7 separate regions of the Homo sapiens genome follow, and all the other regions are linked to region 7. The links are contacts of gene promoters, found by promoter capture Hi-C in blood cells and fetal thymus (Javierre and others, 2016). All regions are on one chromosome and are shown on one strand. The core of a region is centred on a gene start or on the middle of the fragment in contact, and the rest is flanking DNA. Distances in the headings are between cores, read along the strand shown. Region 1 overlaps TMEM108 (transmembrane protein 108). Region 2 overlaps TMEM108 (transmembrane protein 108). Region 3 holds the start of BFSP2 (beaded filament structural protein 2). Region 4 overlaps NPHP3-AS1 (NPHP3 antisense RNA 1). Region 5 overlaps NPHP3 (nephrocystin 3). Region 6 overlaps BFSP2 (beaded filament structural protein 2). Region 7 holds the start of TMEM108 (transmembrane protein 108).

Region 1 (2,943 bases), core at 4-2,503, 310 kb before region 7:
GCCGAATCTTAAGGTTTTGGGAGGTTCTATAGTTGGTTCTAGGTCTTCCTGACTCCTAGTTTAGGATTCAACTTCATCAGGTTTCCAAGGAAGTTACCCTTTCTCCATTTGTTTTCTAGATTTTGGTTTTTATTTTTTAATTGACAAATTGGAATTGTACATATTTATAGAGAACAATTTGATGTTTTGGTTAATATCTACATTGTATAATGATCAAATCAGGGTATTTAGCATATCTATTACCTCATGCATTTATCATCTTTTTTTTTGTGGTGAGAACCACCTTCACAAGCCTCTCTTCTAGTATTTAGTAATACACAATGTTTTACTATTAACCATAGTCACCCTACTGTTCAATAGAACACTAGAACCTATTTCTCCTGGTTGTAACCTTTTACCTATTAACCATCCTCTCCCCATTCTCTCCTTCCTCCCCTCCCAGTCTCTAGTAATCACTGTTCTACTCTTTGCTTCTATATCACCTCTTTTTCTTTTTTTAGATACCACATATGAGTGGTGAGATCATGTAGTATTTGTCTTTCTGTGGCTGCCTTATTTCACTTAACATAATGTCCTCCAAGCTGATCCATGTTGTTGCAAAGGACAGGATTTCCTTCATTTTTATGGCTGAATAGTATTCCATTGTGTACATATACCACATTGTCTTTATTCATCCATTGTTGGATACTTAGGTTGATTCCATATCTTCACTATTTTGAATAATGCTGCAATAACCCTAAGAGTGCAGATATCTTTTGATATACTGATTTCCTTTGGATATATATACAGTAATGGGATTGGTGGATCATGTGGTAGCTCTATTTTTAATTTTTTGAGGAACTTCCATACTGTTTTCCATAATGGCTGTACTAGTTTACAATCCTACCAACAGTGTGCAAGTGTTTTCTTTTCTCCACATCCTCACCGGCACTTGTTTTCTTTTGTCTCTTTTAAAATAATAGTCACTTTAACTGGATGAGATGGTATCTCATTGTGGTTTTGATTTGTATTTCCCTCATGGTTAGTAATGAGCATTTTTTCATGTATCTGTTGGCCATTTGTTTATCTTGAGAAATGTCTGTGAAGGTCTTTTGCTCATTTAAAAATCAGGTTAGTTTTTTTTTTGCTATTAAGTTCCTTATATAGTCTGGATATTAACCCCTTGTCAGATGTATAATTTGCAAATATTTTCTCCCATTCTTTAGGCCATCTCTTCACTCTGCTATTTCCTTTGCTGTGCAAATGTTTATTAGTTTCATGTAATCCTATTTGTCTATTTTTGCTTTTGTTGCCTGTGCTTTTAACTTCTTAAATTATATTGCTGTGTTTGCTCTCCTGTTTTCTTTGTTCTTCTGGTCTACTATTTTAAATAATCCCTTTACTATTTAATGAGGCTTTGATTACATGTGTTTATATTGTGCCACATTAAACCAGCATTCAACCCTAGATTTGAATGCCTCCTCTGTTATGTTCCTGTGATGGGACTTTGAAGAAGTTACTTAAACTCTATAGGCCTCAGTTTTGGTCAACTTAAAGGGGAAAAATAGTATTATATTTGTATTCCTTTGGCTATTAATGAAATTGAACACTTTTCCAGAAGTTTATTGCTCACCTGTATATTTTCTTTTGCTCAAGAGCACTGTCTGCTTTTTTCCTGTAATATTAGTCTTTAAAAATCTATTGTGAGTATTTTTTAATATGTCAAGGCTAGAAACTTGGTAACAATCATGTTTACTGAAAATATTTTCCCCCAATAGTTTGTCTGCCTTTGATTTTGTTTTGTCTATGGAGTTTTGTTTTGTTTTTGACCAAAGAAAAGTCCTTCCCAATCCTGTTTTTGGAAATATTTACCAATATTTTCCTCTATTTGTTTTATAATTTCATCTTCTACACTATGTAGTGGATGTTGTGTGCCACTCAGGTCCCCTCTTGAAGACTTAGGCTCTCATTCCCGAATTTCTTGGACTGTTGGATGCTGATGGCTCATTGTTCAATCTCTCTCCCAGAAATCTCACTGAGCCAAAGGGAGTTGCCTCACCCTACACCATGCCCCTCCAGGGTAAATCCCACATTCAACACCTGGTTGATGTCAGGGAACACAGGCCCTTGTCTCAATTTGGGACAGCTGTGATGGGCTAGCCCAGCTCCCCAGCTACCTGTGGAGTCAGCTGAGCTCTTCATATTAGCATGTATTAGAGGGACTGCCCGCCTCCACTCCGCTTCACTCTATCTCCCAGTGCACTCAACACTAAATGCCCTATACTAAGACTTCTCCCCAAGGTTTCCTGAGAAACCAAAGACAAAAAGTTCAATCCATTTGTAATTTACCTTGATATACTGTGTGTGATGAAGCTCTAACTTATTTTTTCCAAGTAATTAATTCTCCTAATACCATTTACTGACTTATCCTTTGCCCAGATTTTGAACTGCTACCTTTATTATATTTAAATTTTAAAAATATAATAAAACTGTTATAAACAAACTGTTTCAGGGCTATCTAGTTACCCTAATCTGTTCTCTTATATTTGTAATACAATATTTTGATTAATATTACTTAATGACATGTTTTGATTTTTGGTAAAGCAAATCTGGCCCCCCCCTCATTACTCTTGTTTTTCAAAAATATCTTTACTACTTGTTTCTGTTTATACTTTTAGATAAACTTTGGACTCATTTTCCATAGGTTAATTAAGAATTCCATTATTAGAATTTTGATTTGGATTTCAATAAGGCTATTTATTATAACTAATTTGGGCAATCCTGGCAATATTAAATCTCCCTTTGAGATAGAATGTGATCTCTCTCTTCATTAATTCAAATCTTCTTTTATGCTCCTTCTTGCAGTGAGGCTTTATAGTTTTCTTTCTGTGTTGGTTAAATATTAAGTTTTTCTGTTGCAATTATGAAAAAAATTTCTTTATATATTCTACATAGTCACTCCTG
Region 2 (3,171 bases), core at 529-3,028, 280 kb before region 7:
GATTATTTAATTTTCATGTATTTCTATAGTTTTGAGGGTTCCATTTGGAATTAATTTCCAGTTTTTTTCCACTGTGGTCTGAGAGGGCACTTGGTATAATTTTGGCTTTCTTCAATTCATTGAGATTTGTTTTGTGGCCTATCATATGGTCTGTCTTGGAGAATGTTCCATGTGATGATGAAAAGAATGTATATTCTGCAGTTATTGGGTAGAATGTTCTGTAAATATCTGTTAAGTCCATTTGTTCTAGGGCATAGTTTAAGTTCATTGTTTCTTTGTTGACTTTGTGTCTTGATAACCTGTCTGGTGCTGTCAGTGGAGTACTGAAGTCTGGTGCTGTCAGTGGAGTATTTTTTTGTTGCTGTCTATCTCATTTCTTATGTCTAGTAATAATTGTTTTATAAATTTGGAAGCTCCAATGTTAGGTGCATATATATTTAGGATTGTGATATTTTCCAGTTGGATTGATCCTTTTATCATTATATAATGTCCTTCTTTGTCTTTTTAAACTGTTGTTGCTTCAAAGTTTGTTTTGTCTGATATAAGAATCGCTACTCTTGCTCACTTTTGGTGACCATTTGCATGGAATATCTTTCCCCACCACTTTACCTTAAGTTTCTGTGAGTCCTTATGTGTTAGGTGAGTCTCTTGAAGACAGCACATACTTGGTTGGTGGATTTTTATCTATTCTGCCATTCTCTATCTTTTAAGTGGAACATTTAATCCATTTTACATTCAATGTTATTGAGATGTGACATACTGTTTTATTCATTGTACTAGTTGTTGTCTGAATGCCTTGTTTTTTTGTGTTATTGTTTTATGGGCCCTGTGAGATTTATGCTTTAAGAAGATTCTATTTTGGTGTATTTTAAGGTTTTGTGTCAAGATTTAGATCTCTTTTTAGAATTTCTTGTAGTGCTGGCTTGAGAGTGGCAAATGCTCTCAGCATTTGTTAGTCTGAAAAAGACTTTATCTCTCCTTCATTTATGAAGCTTAGTTTTTGCTCAATACAAAATTCTTGGCTAGCAATTATTTTGTTTGAGGAGGTTAATGATAGAACTCCCATCCCTTCTGGCTTGTCGGGTTTCTGCTGAGAAATGTGCCGTTAATCTAATAGGTTTTCCTTTATAGGTTACCTGATGACTTTGCCTCACAGCTCTTAAGATTTTTTCCCTGTCTTGACTTTGGATAACCTGATGATTACGCACCTGGGTGATGACCTTTTTGTGTTGCATTTCCCAGGTTTCCTTCGAGCTTCTTGTATTTGGATGTCTAGATTTCTAGCAAGGCCAGGAAAGTTTTCCTTGATTATTCCCCCAAATATGTTTTCAAAACTTCTAGATTTCTCTTCTTCCTCAGGAACACCAATTATTCTTACATTTGTGTATGTAACATAATCCAAAATTTCTTGGAGGCTTTGTTCATTTTGTTTTGTCTTTTTCTCATTGGGTAACTTGAAAAACTTGTCTTCAAGATCTGAAGTTCTTTCTTCTACTTGTTTGATTCTACTGTTGAAACTTTCTAGTATATTTTGTATTTCTCTAAGTGTGTCTTTCATTTCCAGAAGTTGTGATTGTTTTTTTTTTCTTTATGATAGCTATTTCTTTGGAGCATTTTTTATCCATATCCTGTATATATTTTTTAATTTCTTTAAGTTGGTTTTCACCTTTCTCTGGTATTTCCTTGAGTCACTTAATAATCAACCTTCTGAACTCTTTATCTGGCAATTCAGATATTTCTTCTTGGTTTGAATCCACTGCTGGGGAGCTAGTATGGTCTTTTTGGAGTGTTATAGAACCTTGTTTTATTTAAATGTGGAGATGGAGTCTATGTTGCCCAGGCTGGTCTTGAACTCCTGGGCTCAAGTGATCTTCCCACCTCAGCCTCCCAAAATGCTGGGATTACAGGCATGAGCCACTGCGCCCAGCCAGAACCTTGTTTTGTCATATTGTCTGAATTACTTTTCTGATTCCTTCTCATCTGGGTAGACTATTTCAGTGGAAAAATCTGGAACTTAAGGGCTGCTCTTCAGATTCTTTTGTCCCATGAGGTGGTCTCATGAAGGACTCATGAAGGTCCCATGAAGGGTCCCCTTCCCCTAGGGATGGGGCTTCCTGTGAACTAGACTGCAGTGATTGTTGTTCTTCTGGGTCTAGCAACCCAGTGGGGCTACCAGGCTCTGGGTTGGCGCTAGGGAATGTCTGCAAAGAGTCCTGTGATGCAATCCATCTTCAGGTCTCCCAAACATGGATACCGGCACCTGCTCTGGTGGAGGTGGCAGGGGAGTGAAGTAGACTCTGTGAGAGTCCTTGGTTTTAGATATGTTTAGTGTACTAGCTTTCTTGAATGCTAGTTATGTTAGCAGTGAAGTTGTCATGTGGACAGACTCAGGACCACTGGTCAGCCAGAATGTTGCATGCAATGGAATTAGATGTTTTCTCCTTCCTTGCAGCAGGGTTGTTCTGTCATGAGTTTCCGTAATGTCCTGAGTTGGTTGGCCTACAGCCAGGAGGTCGTGCTTTCAAGAAAGCACCAGCTGCAACAGAAGTGGGATATAAGCTTGCCCTAAGTTGGCCAGGATAAGTATTCAGGTTTCTGAGGCAATGGTCAGGGTCATAAAGCTCCCAAGAGTTTATGTCTTTCGTGATTGGCTACCGGGACAGGTAGAGAAAAATCATCAGGCGGGGGCAGTGTTAGGCAGGACCCAGCTCAGACTCTTCTTGGGCAAGGGCTTGCCGTAGCTACCATGGGGGATAAAGGGGTGGTTCTTGGGCCAACGGGGTTATGTTCCAGAGGGGATTAGGGTTGCCTCTGTCACCAGGGAAGTGGGGGAAAGCCAGTTGTGATGGGCCTCACCCAGCTCCCATGCATTTGGTGAGGCCAATCTCTCTCCCACTGTGGCCTGCAAACAGCGCTGAGTTTATCTCCAGGCAGCCTGTCCACAGGACTCAGACCTAGCCCCAGGCTATACACTTCCCCTGAGTTTTTTTTTTTGCCTATCTCGCAGAATTTGCTGCTTCTTTCAAAGGATCTAGAAATTATTTTGGTTTTCCTGTTATGCTCCTGCAGTGGTTCCTGGAACAAAATTCCATGGTGTGAGTCTCCACATGCTATTCTGTCCATCCAAATGGGAGCTGCATGTCAGTCCTGTCTCCTATTCACCATCTTCCC
Region 3 (2,988 bases), core at 7-2,506, 360 kb before region 7:
TGCAGATATAAGATATTAATATTTCCATCACGCAGAAAGCTCTACTTGAATGTAAATTACCTCATTAATATATTTTGTATTGATTACATGTTGAAATAACATTCTGGACATATAGAGTTAAATAAGCTATAATATTAACTTCACCTGCTTCTTTTTACGTGTTTTACTGTGGGTAATAGAAACTTGTCAATTACCAATGTAGTTCATATTTCTATTGAACAGCGTGGTTGTAGGTGGATACAGGAACACACCTCCATTTATTCATTGTTCTTAACACCTCATCCATCCAATGGTATTTGATTGGATAATAGCTGTAAAAATCCCTTCTCAACAGTAAAGGTGACTGAGGCAGCCCCAGGGTAATGGGGCAAATGCAACTTTGGAGGCACAAAAATTCAGGTTCAAATCTCATCTCCATCCCTCTACTAGCTTTGAAGTCTTGGGCAAATTACATGCCTCAGTTTCTCATCTGAAAAATGCAATCAGTGAATGATCCACTGCATAGCATTTCTTTGAAGTTTAAAGAAGACAGTGGGTAGTGCACGTATGGGGGCTAGCGTGGGCTCCTAGTAAACCTCGGTAAAAGGTAGCATTGTTGTTATCATTACCATTTTAAGTGTGAAAGTGTAGGGGATTATGGTCAGTTTCTCTGGCCTCAGCCTACTCACAACCCTACCCGCTGCCTTCAGCAGCCCCTCCCAGCCCTCTGCAAAGCCCTTGGCACAGCCTGGACACTTACCTGCTGGCAGCTGCTGGCCCAGGAAGCCCGTAGGGCACCCCAGTTTCCCGAGCGTGTGGCTTTGCTCTCCAGGTGCATCCGCAGTTGTGTTTCCAGCTCCTGACTGACTTGCTCAAGGGCGTGCACTTTGGCCATATATTCCACCAGGCAGCCCCCTAGGTCCTCAACAGCACCATGGTCCCTCTCCAAACCTGGAGCCGGCACGGTGGCCAGGCCTGAGCTCCGCAGGCCCTGAAGGAAGACACTGCTGATGCCGAGGGCCCGGCGGGTCACACGGGCACCCAAGCCACCTATGCACCCACTGGGTGCTGTTCCTACATAGACCCCGGGTGCTCGGACAAGGCCACTCATGGCATTGGTCCTGGAGGCTGGGGGGCTCTCCAGGGAGGATGATGACCGTGGCCCCCTGAAGGACGCCCTGCGCCTCTGGAGGGGCATGCTGGAGCTGGCACTGGTGGGCAAGTCCACTACCACTCGCCTCTCACTCATCACCCCTTCTGCCTCTGTGGTGCCCAGTGGGTTTACAGAGTCCAGTGGCTTTTGGTTTACAGCCCCAGCATCCCTGTGGCCTGGTCACGGGCCTCTCTGGAATCTCCCCTATCCCTGGGGCTGCTTTGTCTGCTGTCTTCCATGAGTTTCCATCATTCACTGAGCTGAAAGAGAAATGGGCACTGCCCAGGGCTGTGTGCAGAGAGGCACTCATGCATTCTTTGATGCAGGGTCATGTGCCCAACCTCCCAGATTATTCTGCTGGTGGTGGGGGAGGCTGGATCAGTGCAGGCTGTGGAGGTAGACCATTTGGGTTTGTGCATTTTACTACCTAAGTGGGCAAGGCAGGCATCAAGCAACCCCATTTTACAGATGAGTAAACTGAGGCTCAAGGACCTCAGATGACAAGTGTACTGATCACTTGCCCCAGACCTCAGATTACAAGCTAGGACTCAATCTAGCTATTTCAGGGCTTTCTACATCCCTATGTGTGCTGGCACATGTGAATGTGAACACATGTCCACACAGGCAATAGAGGATGAAAAATGGCAGGAGGCAGCTCCAGGGACCCAAGAGAAAAGACTTGCCTATGGTTTCCTCTCTCAGTCCTGGCAGCAGCTTCAGGTCCTTCCCTCACCTCTCTCCTTTCCTCCTCATCTCTGTCCTCTAATGCTCTGCTGTTCATCAGCTGCTTGCTGTTGGCCAGGATGCTTCCTCCCTCTGGACCTCACTGTCTGAACATTGGCTTGGGCCTTTAACTCTCTGATGCACCAGATAAGGACCTTGGGCAAATTCAGATCCCACACATGTTCCGGCCATTCCCTACACCTCTGCTTCTCCATCTGTTGGAAAACTGAGAAATAAAAACAACAACGAGGGTGTTTTCTGGTAAGCCTCTCCAAGGGTGCCCCAAGTTAGGATATGATGACACCCCTGGGTTTTAATTATTGACCTTGGCATCCACTAAGCCACCAAGGGTCACACCTCAATCACTTCTCTAGGATCAGAAAGGTTCCCCCAGTTACAGGATGACAACATGGACCTAAAAACCTCTGTACATAAGTTTTACCCTGGAGAAACCAGGTCACCAAACCCCAGAGCTGGATACTTTTCCAGATGCTGTAATGTAGGAATGTACCTCAGGTGAGAGAAGGAGAAGGGAGTCAATCTCTAGTGAGTAGCAGATCCAGCCTGGTGTGTGCATGAATCCTATGGTTTATTTCGTGGAATTCTCAACTCAACCTCAGGAGGAAGGAGGTCCAGGGTTGACAGGTACTGCCATATGGGCTGTGTACCTCACAGCTCTAAAATGACATGTCCTACAGTTGGCCACTGTCCTCTTATGTGAGGAGGACCCCGAGAGCTGCAATGACTTGCCCAAGGTTCTATGTCCAGAAAGTAGCAGAGCTGGGGGCAGACAACCTCTTCCAAACTCTGGGCCACTGACTTACTTAGGAGCCTCCCTGTTGCCCACCACCCAGAGAGCAGAGTACCTACCTGAGGTCACGCAGGTAGAGGTAAAAAACCTGGTCGCCTACTAGAGGACCCTGTGTGCACTTCCTTCCTACTGACCAGGACACTCCAACCCTTCCTTTCTTTATTGTCTTCCACTTTGTCTCTCTGAGATGGCCTGGGAGGTATTTTATAAATATCAGTGTTGGCTATTTGATGAACAGATGAAAGAACCAATTGGATTAAGTAAAGGCCAGTAGTGTCCTTGTTTATTCAGATGTAGCATTAATGCTGTGAACACCACCCCT
Region 4 (3,076 bases), core at 121-2,620, 280 kb after region 7:
CAAGTGAATAAGGGCTTTTTTTTCTTTCTTTCTTTTTTTTTGAGCATTAAGTTTTTGAGAAGTTGGGTAAAAATTAGTTAACTTTATTGCTGCCAGGAGCATTTGAACCATTAATTTTTCCCTGGATTAATTGGACGGCAGAAATGTCCTTGGTCAATTTCTAAGTGAAAGACATAGAAGGAAATAGAAGGAATTCTTCCTTCTAATTCAACCCATGAGATGGGCCTAAGAAATATTTGTCAAATAAATTAAAAAGTATATGAAAGAGTCAATCAATGTTAAAAAATAGACATCTATATACTGAAAATGATCTTGCTCTTTTGAGAGGAAATGATTTGTCGTTACTGTATTTGCTGAGCATTTTTTTTGTTATAAAATTGAAAGTACAGGATTCTAGAAATTTGCTTTGAAGTAGTTATCTAAGAGACAAACTATCAAACAGAACCTAGTGATATGAGTAAGCTCAACACTTGTCAATATTCTCAGGTCTACCTATAGCTGAGAACTGCAGAAACTCCTACTGATAAGCAGGAAGTTTTCATGACATTTAATAAGTAGCTCCAGCTGAAATAAAATGAAATGAGAAGTATAAGCTGGAGGCAGCCGAGAAGCAACAGGAAACTGATAATGCCCTTGGAAGAAGAGGTTACCATTAAAGGCCCCTCATCAAACAACTAAGCACAGATCCACAGGCAAATCGATAAACAGAACCAGACCTAACAGCCTGCTGGTGAATATGGTTCAAACAGACTAGATAAGATGGAAAGAAATTGACCAGCGTTGAGGATGCAATTTCCAGGAGTCATCTCTCCCTGTAGCTCAAAGAAGACTTAAGGAGATACTAGACATGGGGTAGAAGTTCAAGGCAGCTGTGTGTGGAGAGGAGTGAGGAGTTCTGTTCCAACAGGACCCTTAGGGGCTGTTGGAACTTCTAAGAGGAAATTTAGCACAGGCTGGTGCCAAAGAATTCACCTCCAAAATCTAAACCCAACATAGATTCCAAAGTTTGTGAGGGAAATTTAAATGTCCCCCAAAAGGCCAGGCATAGCCGTGGCCCAGAGTGCAGGGGATCCCTAAATAGACCCCCAATACCCAAAAACTTCCTTGACAGTTCCCCTCAGGAGCCTCAAAGAAACTACAAACTCAATGTATTAGAAACAAAAATTGATGATCATTTACTGAAAACCAGGTCTTCCACCTCCATTGCTTCCTAACTCAACAAATGGTATCCCCATTTCTCCAGTCTCATATCCAGAAAACTAGGCCTCACTCCTGGCCCCCTCTCCCCCACTCTCCAAACTGAACTTTCTTAAATATAACCATTACTCTCCACCTCCACCACGATGCTACTTTAGGCCACTCCCCTGGTTCATGTGGATTCCAAAGTAACCCCCTAACTAATCTCTCCCCAACCACCATCGCTCCCTACAATCTGTTTCAGCCTTGCAGCCAGAGTGGGCATCTTTCCAAAATGCAAATCTGACCATGTCAAACCACTACATACCACTACTCGAAGCCCTTTAAAGGCCTCTCATGGCTTTGGGGATAAAGAGGGAACTCCTTACCATGGTGTATGAAGGCCAGAATTCTCTGGCTCCTGCTCACATCTCCAGCTTCTTCTAGTTCCACACTGCCCCTCAGCAATCTGTTCTGGCCATTGCATCCTTCTTTTGGTTCTCTGCTGTCACTAAATCCCATCTTGCTAAAAGGTCTTTCTGTTAAGGAATTCCATCTCATCCTTTCAGACTTTAGGTCAAACAGTATCTCCCCCAGAGAGCCTTTCCTAATGTCTCTGGCCAGGTACCAGTAATCTCTCCTGTGCAGCTCTTCTCACAGTTGCAATTTTACACTGATACTCATAATTTGTTTTTATTACTATTCACATTCCTCCTAAACTCTCTAAATTCCATGAGTATAAGTTGAGCATCTGATTTTGCTCACCAGTGGACCCCTAGCTCTCAGAAGATAGCAAACAGGCCAAGCATTGTTGAAAATTAAATGAATGAATGGCACAGAAAGAAGCCAGAAAGACAGCCAGGGAACTCCACCTTCCTGCTTCTGGTCCCTCTTACACATGACTAGGAATAAATTTAAAACATGGCTTATTTTGTCCTGAATTGCTCCCTTTGCCCAGAAATTGTTTGGTGAACACCCTAAGATTTGACTGCAGCAGAGTGAGGTGCCAGGTTATAATTCAATCAGGACATAAGGCTTTAGGCACTGCCCAATCAGCATTTTTAGGGCTCATTGATGAAATGAGAATTTTCCCCCTATAATACAAGTGCAATTTTAATGACAGGAAATTTTTGAGATATGTAAAGTATAATTTTTTTGAAACCTAGGACAATGAAGAAAAATTTCTCATGATAGTTTTTATCATTATAGGCTAGAAATGAAAAAGATACTTTAAAGACCTTATTAGTGAGATAACAGAGAAGAATCATTGTTAGAAAAGATTTTTTAATGAAATGTAATATCTATATGTATTTTCTGCCAGAGAAGAAATTAATTTAAAAGTTTCCACAATAATCACTCATAAATGATAGTATAAGTGAAGGATCATAGGTTCTGTTTGCTTTAATTCACCTCTATTTATATGTTTCAGACCAAAACCCTCTTCTATCAAAGTTCTCAGATTTAATATATAATTTTCAAATAATCTACAATAAATATTTATAATATACATCCATACTACTTCAGTTCTAAAGGCAATGTTTGCTTATTTGTTTGTTATAATGAAATCTGTTCATTAGGTGTTTTTAGAAAACTTCAAAAGGTTTTGTTTCAAAGCACCTAAATTATTGAAAAATAAACAGACAAGCTTATATAGGCAAAACACATACACACACACATATGCACACACACTCATCCTCACAGCTTTAACATATTGTTAATAATACTAACAGAACTCTTTATTGAGGACTTAGTGCATGTCAACCACTGTGATGGACACTTGCTTCATGGATATTGTCTCCTACCACCCACTACTACTTTGTGAATCAGATTCTATTTCTGTTCCCATTTTATCATCCTTTTTATAATTCTGATAAAATATTAGGGCTTAAAAGGGTTAAAA
Region 5 (3,021 bases), core at 1-2,500, 320 kb after region 7:
TGTGGAGTAACACTGTCAGATGTTACCTCATTTATACAGATGAAACCCAGCCTGAGATGGATCTTTTCCTTAAGGTGAGGATATTTATAAATTCTGTATCAACCAATTTAAAATATAAGTTAATATTATATTCTGTTTCTGATACTACTGTATCTCAACCAAATAGTTTCCTACTAGATTATATGTCTTAAAGAACAGGAAGCGTCTTGGGCTTTTCTTAAGAGAAAATATTGTTCAATATTATATGTAAAGAAAGGTGGTGAATTGAGAGTTTATTTATTTATTTTTACTTTCTGGAATTAACTTTCCTAGGACAGGAGCTAAGACAGAAAAAGAAGGTTTTAACTCGTTTTAGTTAGTTTTAAATGTCAAACTAAGGTGTTGGAACTTTCTGGACTTTTTTTTGTTTGTGTGTTTGTTTGCTTGTTTTGAGACAGTGTCTTGCTCTGTTGCCTGGGCTGGAGGGCAGTGGCACAGTCATAGCTCACTGTAGCCTAAAACTCGTGAGCTCAAGCAATCTTCCCACTCAGTCCTCCAGAACAGCTAGGACTACAGGTACACACCACCACATACGGCTAATTTAATTTATTTATTTTTTTTTTTTGCAGAGAAAGTGACTCATTGTGTTGCCTAGGCTTGTTTAGTGAATTTTTCATTGCATATTCTCCACAATGTTTAAGACTCTTGTTGATTGTGTCTACTTTAGTTACTCTCTCTTCCAGCTCTATCCTTGAGTCTGTCTCAGGTAGTAAAATTTTCTCCTTACTGTGGTTTAAATTTTCCAAGGCAGCCGTTGGAGTTATTCTAAGGCAAGGGTCACTATAGCCAGTTGGTGAAATCTGGCCTGCTGCCTGTTTTAAATGGCCCAGAGATAAGATTGGTTTTCACATTTTAAGTGGTAGAAAAAAATCAAAAGGAGAATAATATTTTATGACATGTGGAAATTATATGAAATACAAATCTTAGTGTCTATCAAGTTTTATTAGAACATTGCTGCACTCATTCGTTTACGTATCATCCATGGCAGCACTACAACACCAATTCAATGGCAGAGTAAATTGTGATAGAAACCAAATAAGCCACAAAGATCCCTGCTAAAGCAGCCAAGTTGTAAAGCTATTATTATTTTTGTAGACATATTTGCTATCTAACCCTTTATATAAAAAGCTTGCCTACCAGTGTTCCAAGGGAATTTTATAGAATCTGTGTGTCACATGCTATACCTGCTATATTAACATCTTCCCTGTTGTTGATTACCAAATTCATTTAGCTTTCCTTTGTGATATTATTCAATTTTAGTAAAAAGATAAAATATTTTAAAGCCCAAAGCTTCCATCCAGTAATTGAAAATGTTATTCCCAACGACATTTTGAGGGCATTACTGATTTCTTTCATAATAATAGTCATCATTACTTACTAACTTAATTATAGATTTATGTGTTTTTAACTTATATCGCTCTGCTTTAGCGTTCTGATATATCATCGTGGATGTTTTTTACTATACAGATTTATGGATCTATATTTTGCACTCTTTATGACAATAAAACAGATTGTTCATAGTAATAATAACAAAAAGAAACAAATACCAAAGCAAAATAGCCTAATACTGTCTCCTGTTGTTCTAGCTTTACTATGAAATAAGTCATTTTCTGAGCTAGAAAAAGGCCAAGTTGCTAAGCTATTATTATTTGTATTTGAGAGAAACTTGCCTTTTTAAGATTTTCTTTAAAATGTGATTATTTTTAAAATTTTATATGAAAAGATATCCAGTATAACCTGTTTTAAAGCGTGCTTTTTATTTTAAGTAGTATGAATCTCACTTGATCTTTAGTTAAATACATTAAACTTTTGTATGTTTTCATTTGTTTTTAGGACTATTCACCTAAACTTAAGAGAATGTGCGAGACAATGGGATATTTTTTCCATGCTGTTTATTTTCCAATAGATGTTGAAAATCAATACCTCACTGTAAGAAAATGGGAAATTGAGAAAAGTTCTTTAGTTATTTTATTTATTCACTTAACATTACCAAGGTAAGCTGAAAAAAAATGTAATTTATTATAAGCAGTAAACTGTAAATAGAATTGAGTTTGCCAAATAAGCTTCAAAGATAAATTTTATTGCATCCTTATAATAAAAAAATCCATGAAATTCAATAAATTCTACAACTGTTTCACACTTAAATAAAATAATTAAAAGTTTTAAGCTGTTAGACTTGTTTCATAGGTCATATGATCAACACCTTAATTTTTAGCTTATTTTAATCAGAGTTTGGCAAATATAGCCCAAGGGCCAAATCTAGCCAGGAGTTTGCTTTTGTAAATAAAGTTTTATTGGAACACAGCCACATTCATTCATTCATATATATATAAATTTTTTTTTCTTTTTTTTTTGAGACAGAGTCTTGCTCTGTCGTCCAGGCTGGAGTGCAGTGGCGCAATCTCGGCTCACTGCAAGCTCCACCTCCCAGGTTCACACCATTCTCCTGCCTCAGCCTCCTGAGTAGCTGGGACTATAGGCGCCCACCACCACGCCTGGCTAATTTTTTGTATTTTTGGTAGAGATGGGGTTTCACTGTGCTAGCCAGGATGGTCTCAATCTCCTAACCTTGTGATCCCCCTGCCTTGGCCTCCCAAAGTGCTGGGATTACAGGCGTAGGCCAACACACCTGGCCCATTCGTGTATTTTCTACAGCTGCCTTCATACTATAATAGCAAAGTTGAATCTTTACAACAGAAACCATGTGTCCTACAAAACCTGAGTTGTTTACTATCTGGCCTTTTACAGAAAAAGTTGATAACCCCTAATTTCAATAATCAACATTAACCTTCATTCTTTTCTTTCTTTGGATACAAACTGAGAGGTATTTGAACTATGTATTTTACATATAAAGTTCATGTACTTGATCACTTGTGTAGGTGTTGAATCATAATTTACATTTTTTGAGGAGCTTACTATTTAAATAGACCCAGTAAAGTGAACAATGTTCTTATAATGTGAATATAATCATGCTAATGAATC
Region 6 (2,921 bases), core at 315-2,814, 420 kb before region 7:
TTATTAAAAAAGAAAAATAGTTAACGGTAAAACAGCCTCAGGCAGGTCCTTCAGGAGGAATTCCAGAAGAAGGCATTGTTGTTACAGGAGCTGAAAGCTCCACACATGTCACTGCCCCTGAAGACCTTTCAGTGGGACAAGATGTGGAGGTGGAAGACAGTGATATTGACGATCCTGACCCTGTGTAGGCCTAGGCTAATGTGTATGTATGTGTCTTAGTTTTTAACAAAAAAAGTTTAAAAGGTTAAAAAAACCCCCTCTTAAAAATAGAAAACAAGCTTATAGAATAAGGATAAAAGAAAGAATATTTTTGTATAGCTGTATGACGTGTTTGCATTTTAAGCCAAGTGTTATTATAATAGAGTCAAAAATTTGGAGTTGGGGACTCTGTGCCCCTTCTCACATACGTTGCCTTAAGCATCTCCTCCATTTGGCTGCTCCTGAATTGTATCCTTTATAATAAGCTGGCAAAAATATGTAAAGTGTTTCCTTGAGTTCTGGGCACTGTTCTAGCAAACTATCTACTTATCCCTCTGCAGAGGAGGTTGTGGGAACCCCTAATTTATAGCCAGTTCATCCGAAGTATGGGAGGGCCAGACTTGTCATCTGAAGTGAGGGCTGTCTTATGGGACTGAGCCCTTAACCTGTGGGATCTGATACTACTTCAGGCAGGTAGTGTCAGGATTGAATTGAATTATAGGACACTCAGTTGGTGTTTGGAGATCTGCTTGGTGTGGAACAAACCTACATATTTGGTGTCAGAAGCATTTTGTAAGAGCATAGGGGACAAAAAGGATTTTTTAAAAAAGAGATGGGGTCTCACCATGTTGCCCAGGCTGGAGTAGAGTGGCTATCCATAGGCATGATCATAGTGTACTTCTCCTTTGAACTCTTGGCCTCAAGCAATCCTCCTGCCTCAGCCTCCTGAATAGCTAGGACTACAGGCACATGCCACAGTGCCCAACTTAAAAAAAAAGTTGTTTTGTTTTACTTGACTAACTAGGAGGTCTAGAGTGTGGTGTGGCATGTTGTCTGAGGTTCCTGAAGCATCCCTGAGTACCCTGCATTAGGTAACCACAACAAATAGACAAGGAAGAACTAGACTTTAAGACCCTCCAGAAATTCTCTGGACCAATCTGATCCTGTCATCACTGAATCATACAACTTCAGAAGCTTCAAAAACTGGACCATGAGGTTCCTGACATTCGTAACACCATAGCTGGAAAGAATATGAATACTGCACTGACCTTAGCCAGAACCTCTTAATAAATTTTTTTATGTCTCTATTTTATTAAGCTTTTAATGACTGAAAAAATAAACAGAATTGGCAGATAAGTTCTAGCAGATGCTGATGGTACCACCTTTATCCCTTAGGCTTTCGCAGTTTAGTGCTCTCCTGTTCCCCCTGCCAGATTCTGCATCTTTTTGCCTGAGAGTTTCTCTGAAGCCTTTGGAAGGCCACTCTGATAGCAGATGGCAGAAAACTGTTGGGAGATGGTATTAACATCTCAGCTCCCTTGCCTTTCCCCTCTCCTGTAGTCTATACCGTTTCTCACAATTCTTCTTGGTTTACACGTCAGTCTCCCACAGTGGTAACTGGTTTGATTAGGCATTCTTTGTTGGTTCCCTTCTTTGCTTCTCCTCTACTGGTATTTTGTTGGTTTTTAACTCCCCAACTTCCAGGTAAACTACCTTAACTCCAATATTTGTTTCAGGATCTGCTTCTGAAGGAACCTAAACTAAGATATAAATTAATCATGTTAATTAATTTTCAGCCTCTGTGGTCCGAAAGGTAATTAAATGCATGCTTGCATTTTCTTTACAAAAGCTTTTGAAAGCTGTGTGTGCTAAGCCATTTCACATTTATGCTATGCCGCCAAGAAACCGACAAGAGATGCTCAGGATGGGCAAATGTCAGCCCCTGAGGGCACAACTGCAACTGACAAAACTATTTATTGGAGGAATTCTGGCTGTCAGTTCAGATCTCTGTTGATGATCAGAGGAATTCACTCATTCTGCAAATATTTTCTGAGCTCTGCCTTTCTGCAAGAGGCCCAGGCAGCATTGGCCAAGCTAAAACAAATACTGTCTGTTTTCTCTGAGATGTAGCTTTCAGATTACTCTATTAAAAAAACACTAATGAATCTGTTCAGAATTAATGTTTGAGTTACTGTTGGGCTAGTGATGATTCTCCAAGGGGTGAGGAGGAGATAATAATGACCTTTTTTTTTTCTTTTTCATACTATGAAGGATTTATTTCTGATAATTATAATAGTCTGTCCTTTCCCAAAGAAACAGTTACCACAGTGTGGTGCACACCGCAGGAGGGCTGGGACAGAAGCAAAGTTTGCAAACTGCTGGGCCTCTGAGGTTTAGCTTTAGAAGCAGAGCCAGGGGAGAAACGATGCAGCCCAATGCAGAGAAAAGGTCTCTGGACCAAGAACAGGAGAGTTGAACTATGGAGCTCTCAACCAGCTGTGTGATCGTGGGAAGTCACCTGCACTCTCTGGGTCTCAGTTTCCTCACACCTAAAATTAGGGAATGGGATCAGATGGTCTCTAGGACCATTAATTATCTGTTATCTGTCATGAGTCTGTTAAAAAAGGCAATGGACCAAACTCAAATCTATGGCTTCACTTTACCTCTGTGTTGCTCCACTTCTCATCAGGTTGGGTGGGGCGAGGGGAAGTCATTTTTTGAATAACTAGGCTCTATTTGCCATAAAAAAGTGTTTGTAGTGACCTGGCTCAATGATTGGTGGTTAGAAAGAAAGGAAGCTATTGAAACGGGGTAGGGGTTGGAGAAATGGGTGAGTGAAAGGATGTTTTCTAGGCTGGAGAACATTTTGGGAATCCAGAATTGATGAAGACCCTGCTGGGAAGGTTCTTGTTGATACTTGGGGGATAGAGGGAGTATGGTGG
Region 7 (3,141 bases), core at 305-2,804:
TTGCCTAGTAAACTGAATTCTTGGCAAGTGTAGGCATTTCACAGGCATGGGGTGTGTTTTAGAGGTTTGAAATCAGGTCATTTCCTAAAGAAACATGTTGTTGTACAGGGAATGTAAGAGCTATAAAGGGCTTTGAAGGTATCAGGATGTCTCCAAGGGACAAGGTAGAGAGACCCTTATCCATCTCATACCAGAAAGAGTTCTGAATAAATTACGTGGAAAGTCCAGAACACAGTAATATCTTCATAATGAGTTAGTTGAACCATTTCTTACAGAGTAGATTACCAGGTGTATCCAACAAATCAAGAAGTTAACCCGTGGAAAATTGAAGGGACTTTTTATGTTTGCCTATGAGCTGTCTGGGGAAATGGAGGAGAGGCAGGGAATACTTTCCATAGCTTGACCTGCTCTTAAGTTCCTGGACATACCTTCCCCTTTTTAAAGTATGATTTAAAGGCAACAATCCATCTCCCCCGGACTCCCATACAAACCTCTTTTGGCAGCCAAATGGTCTTCATCGAGCACACACTTTTCAAAGAATTAAGGACGTGTGAGTAGGTTTAGTTTAGACCCTGCCTTCCCTCTCCCCACAACCCAGTAACATGCTGAAAATAAGTAATAACCTTCCTGGGTACCCCCAGAAAAACCTGTTTGCAGAAACTACAACCTTTCCTCCGAAAAAAACCCCTATCTTCTTAAGGAAGAATCTCAGTGTGGTGGTCTGCAGTTCACTGCAGGCATTTCCCTCCTCACCATTTACCAGTCATCAGTTACGCTGCATCTGAAATTGGTTTTTGTAGACTTTCATTTAGACCGGCTCCACCGGTGCCCAACTGCTTAAAAAAAAAAATAGCCCCTGAACCAATCTCTGGATTCCTCCAGCAGGCTCAAAGCGTTCAATTTCGCTGCAACTCTGGGGTGAAAACCGCCAGGTCCAGCCGGCAGAGCAACCTCCCGGGCAGCACGGAGGCTCCGTCCCCGGCGAGGCCGCCGGCACCTAGGCAGGAGGGCTCTTCGCACAGCTGCGCTAGGAATTCGGCTCCGCTCGCGGCCGCAGGATTAGTTCGAGTCCCTCGGGCTGGCCAAAGTGACACTACATTTCTTCTTCTTCGTTTCCCCATGTGACAGGTCCCCCTGCATTAAAGCCACCTCCTCCTCGGCCCCAGCCCAGGTCCAGCGCTCCTGACGCCCGCGCCCCATCACCCGCACCCTCCACCTGGGGAGGGGGTTCATGCCAGCAACCCTCCAGGCGGGAAACAAAGGCGGAGGCAGGGCTGCCAGGTGGGCAACTCCCCTCGGGCAGACCCGTCACGCAGTGGGGAGGATGGGAAGGTGCCTGAGAGGATAGGAAAAGGGAAACCAAGGCAACCGGGGCTGCATCCTCCCTGAAGCTGGGCTCCCGGGGCAAGCTGACCCCACACCTCCCCGAGCCCCGCCCAGCCCAGCCTAACCCGCTTGCCGGGACCCAGCATGGGAAGGACTGGGGGGACGCCCCGGAGCGCCGCTTACCTCGGGAGAAGCGCTCCGGCTCCCTCCGACGGCTCAGGAGAAAGCCCCACCGCTCGCGCACGCGCTCTCGCGCACTCGCGCCTTCGCCCCTCGGGCCCCCGCGCGCGCCCCTCCGACCAGGCTCTGGCCCGCCCCGGCCTTGTCCGTCAGCGTCCGCGACAGCCAATCCGGTCGCACGGAAGGCTCAGCGCCGGTCACGTGGTGAGACCAGCCAATCACCAAATTGCCCTCGGCAGCGCCCGCTCCGATGTCTCTGGGGGTTCGGTTGCTACCTAGCAGAGCGGGTGCGAGGCGGGCACAAAGGGTCTCTGTTTTCGGGGGCTAAGTGGCACTCAGTTGATCAATTACCAGATCAATTGACTTCTCAAATTCTAATATAAATAAGAATCACTTGACTCTCTTGTTAAAATGCGGATTCTGATCCAGAAGGTCTGGGGTGGAGACCTGAGATCCTGCATTTCTAATAAGCTCCCAGGTGGCGATGACGAAGCTCTTGGTCGGAGGATCACGCTTTGAATTGCACCTGTCCGAAAGTAATGGCTGTAGCCCCAGCTCCACGTAATTTGAAACTTGCACGACCTTTCTTGTCCTTCTTCCACTGATGAGAAGCGTTCCTGTGGCTACATGGGGTGTCCCGGTGATGCTTACAGTTTGGGCACCAGCTGAGGGAAGGTGTGTTTAATCCCCACATTACCCACCCTTGGTCTATGGAGCAGCAATCATGCCAACTTGGTGACTGGAGTGTGGAACCAGAAGTGGAGACGGAATGGCCATGGAAGAGAACACTGTGTCTACGTTAATCCTAAAGGGTTGGGCGTGTGTGTCTGAGTGGCGCGGTGCCAGACACTTGGCCAGAGAAGTGGTATAAGTGGTCCCTGCTTCTCAAAACGTAACAATTTGTTGTAGAACTATACAGGCTAGTTCAGAAAGAAGCATGTGGAGAAAACATCCGGGAAGCTAACAGTCACAGCACAAATTCAGGCATAAGCTAAAGAGGTTGTAAAATAATATGCCTTGAGGGTCTTAAAAACTGTCCAAATATTCTTCTGTCAGTAATTCCAGAGTCTAGAAGTTAGGACTCCCACTGGCCCTGTCATTTCTCAAATTTGACCTAAGGACTCAGTGTTTTCGGACTGGCCAGCTAGAACCTTTGTCGTTCAGCGTAGCCAAGCTCTTATTACCCAGTAGTGTACCGCCGTGGTTCAAGATTCTTAAGTGCTGAATTCTCCAAAACCTTCATCTCTCATCTCTTGAAACCAGGTGGTATAACCCTGCTTCAGCATTTCTCTCTCACTATCAAGGTGATCAAACTGTCGCTTAGAGAAAACTTCACCTTTGTCAGTGTGTCCTGAACTTCTCTGGCTTCTCATCCCCAGAAGTGAAGCCCACCTAGCAATCTCAGACATTGTTCATCACATTGTCCCTATCAGAGATGGCATCGCACAAAATTCAGAGTTTCTGGGAACATGTTAAACCTGTCACAGCAATGGTTCTGGCTACAGCAGGAGTAAAGAAATGTCTAAGCAAGAAAAATGTTTTGAAAGCCTCAAAAAAAGTTTGTTTGCTGTCATTAAACCAGTGGTTCTCAAGCCTAGCTGGATGGTAAGTATTTATGGAAGTAGGTTGTGGGGC

What was found. The method cuts DNA at HindIII sites, captures the fragments that hold promoters and counts their contacts. A CHiCAGO score of 5 or more calls a contact.
Region 1: a fragment that was not itself captured here is called in contact with the fragment with the promoter of TMEM108 in region 7 in 1 of 17 cell types (megakaryocytes); the score reaches 7.2 in megakaryocytes.
Region 2: a contact is called between a fragment that was not itself captured here and the fragment with the promoter of TMEM108 in region 7, in 1 of 17 cell types (megakaryocytes). The highest score is 8.4, in megakaryocytes.
Region 3: the fragment with the promoter of BFSP2 here is called in contact with the fragment with the promoter of TMEM108 in region 7 in 6 of 17 cell types (megakaryocytes, endothelial precursors, erythroblasts and 3 more); the score reaches 21.7 in megakaryocytes.
Region 4: a fragment that was not itself captured here is called in contact with the fragment with the promoter of TMEM108 in region 7 in 4 of 17 cell types (megakaryocytes, endothelial precursors, M2 macrophages and 1 more); the score reaches 11.1 in megakaryocytes.
Region 5: a contact is called between a fragment that was not itself captured here and the fragment with the promoter of TMEM108 in region 7, in 1 of 17 cell types (megakaryocytes). The highest score is 5.0, in megakaryocytes.
Region 6: a contact is called between a fragment that was not itself captured here and the fragment with the promoter of TMEM108 in region 7, in 1 of 17 cell types (megakaryocytes). The highest score is 5.3, in megakaryocytes.

Annotation. Positions count from the first base shown.
Region 1 is chr3:133,347,774-133,350,716 of GRCh38, reverse strand. All of the region lies in intron 3 of TMEM108 (transmembrane protein 108), which reads right to left. The region is part of intron 5 of LOC101927432 (a long non-coding RNA gene); the gene reads left to right. Among named protein-coding and RNA genes, the nearest start is that of BFSP2, 51 kb to the left of the region's middle. The HindIII fragment of the contact is 8,814 bases long and covers 1-2,943 here.
Region 2 is chr3:133,318,744-133,321,914 of GRCh38, reverse strand. All of the region lies in intron 3 of TMEM108 (transmembrane protein 108), which reads right to left. Among named protein-coding and RNA genes, the nearest start is that of TMEM108-AS1, 63 kb to the right of the region's middle. The HindIII fragment of the contact is 1,567 bases long and covers 995-2,561 here.
Region 3 is chr3:133,398,324-133,401,311 of GRCh38, reverse strand. It overlaps BFSP2 (beaded filament structural protein 2), which reads right to left and starts at 1,256. Exons shown (of 7, transcript NM_003571.4): 1 at 740-1,256. The coding sequence starts at 1,228. The HindIII fragment of the contact is 8,153 bases long and covers 1-2,988 here.
Region 4 is chr3:132,754,817-132,757,892 of GRCh38, reverse strand. All of the region lies in intron 3 of NPHP3-AS1 (NPHP3 antisense RNA 1), which reads right to left. Among named protein-coding and RNA genes, the nearest start is that of NPHP3-ACAD11, 34 kb to the right of the region's middle. The HindIII fragment of the contact is 2,906 bases long and covers 1-2,823 here.
Region 5 is chr3:132,712,138-132,715,158 of GRCh38, reverse strand. It overlaps NPHP3 (nephrocystin 3), which reads left to right. Exons shown (of 27, transcript NM_153240.5): 5 at 1-74; 6 at 1,873-2,033. It overlaps NPHP3-ACAD11 (NPHP3-ACAD11 readthrough (NMD candidate)), which reads left to right. Exons shown (of 45, transcript NR_037804.1): 5 at 1-74; 6 at 1,873-2,033. Among named protein-coding and RNA genes, the nearest start is that of NPHP3-AS1, 8.1 kb to the left of the region's middle. The HindIII fragment of the contact is 162 bases long and covers 1,170-1,331 here.
Region 6 is chr3:133,452,218-133,455,138 of GRCh38, reverse strand. All of the region lies in intron 4 of BFSP2 (beaded filament structural protein 2), which reads right to left. All of the region lies in intron 2 of BFSP2-AS1 (BFSP2 antisense RNA 1), which reads left to right. Among named protein-coding and RNA genes, the nearest start is that of BFSP2-AS1, 37 kb to the left of the region's middle. The HindIII fragment of the contact is 532 bases long and covers 1,299-1,830 here.
Region 7 is chr3:133,036,804-133,039,944 of GRCh38, reverse strand. TMEM108 (transmembrane protein 108) reads right to left here and starts at 1,554. Exons shown (of 6, transcript NM_023943.4): 1 at 1,510-1,554. RefSeq lists an enhancer at 1,566-1,860. The HindIII fragment of the contact is 5,754 bases long and covers 1-3,141 here.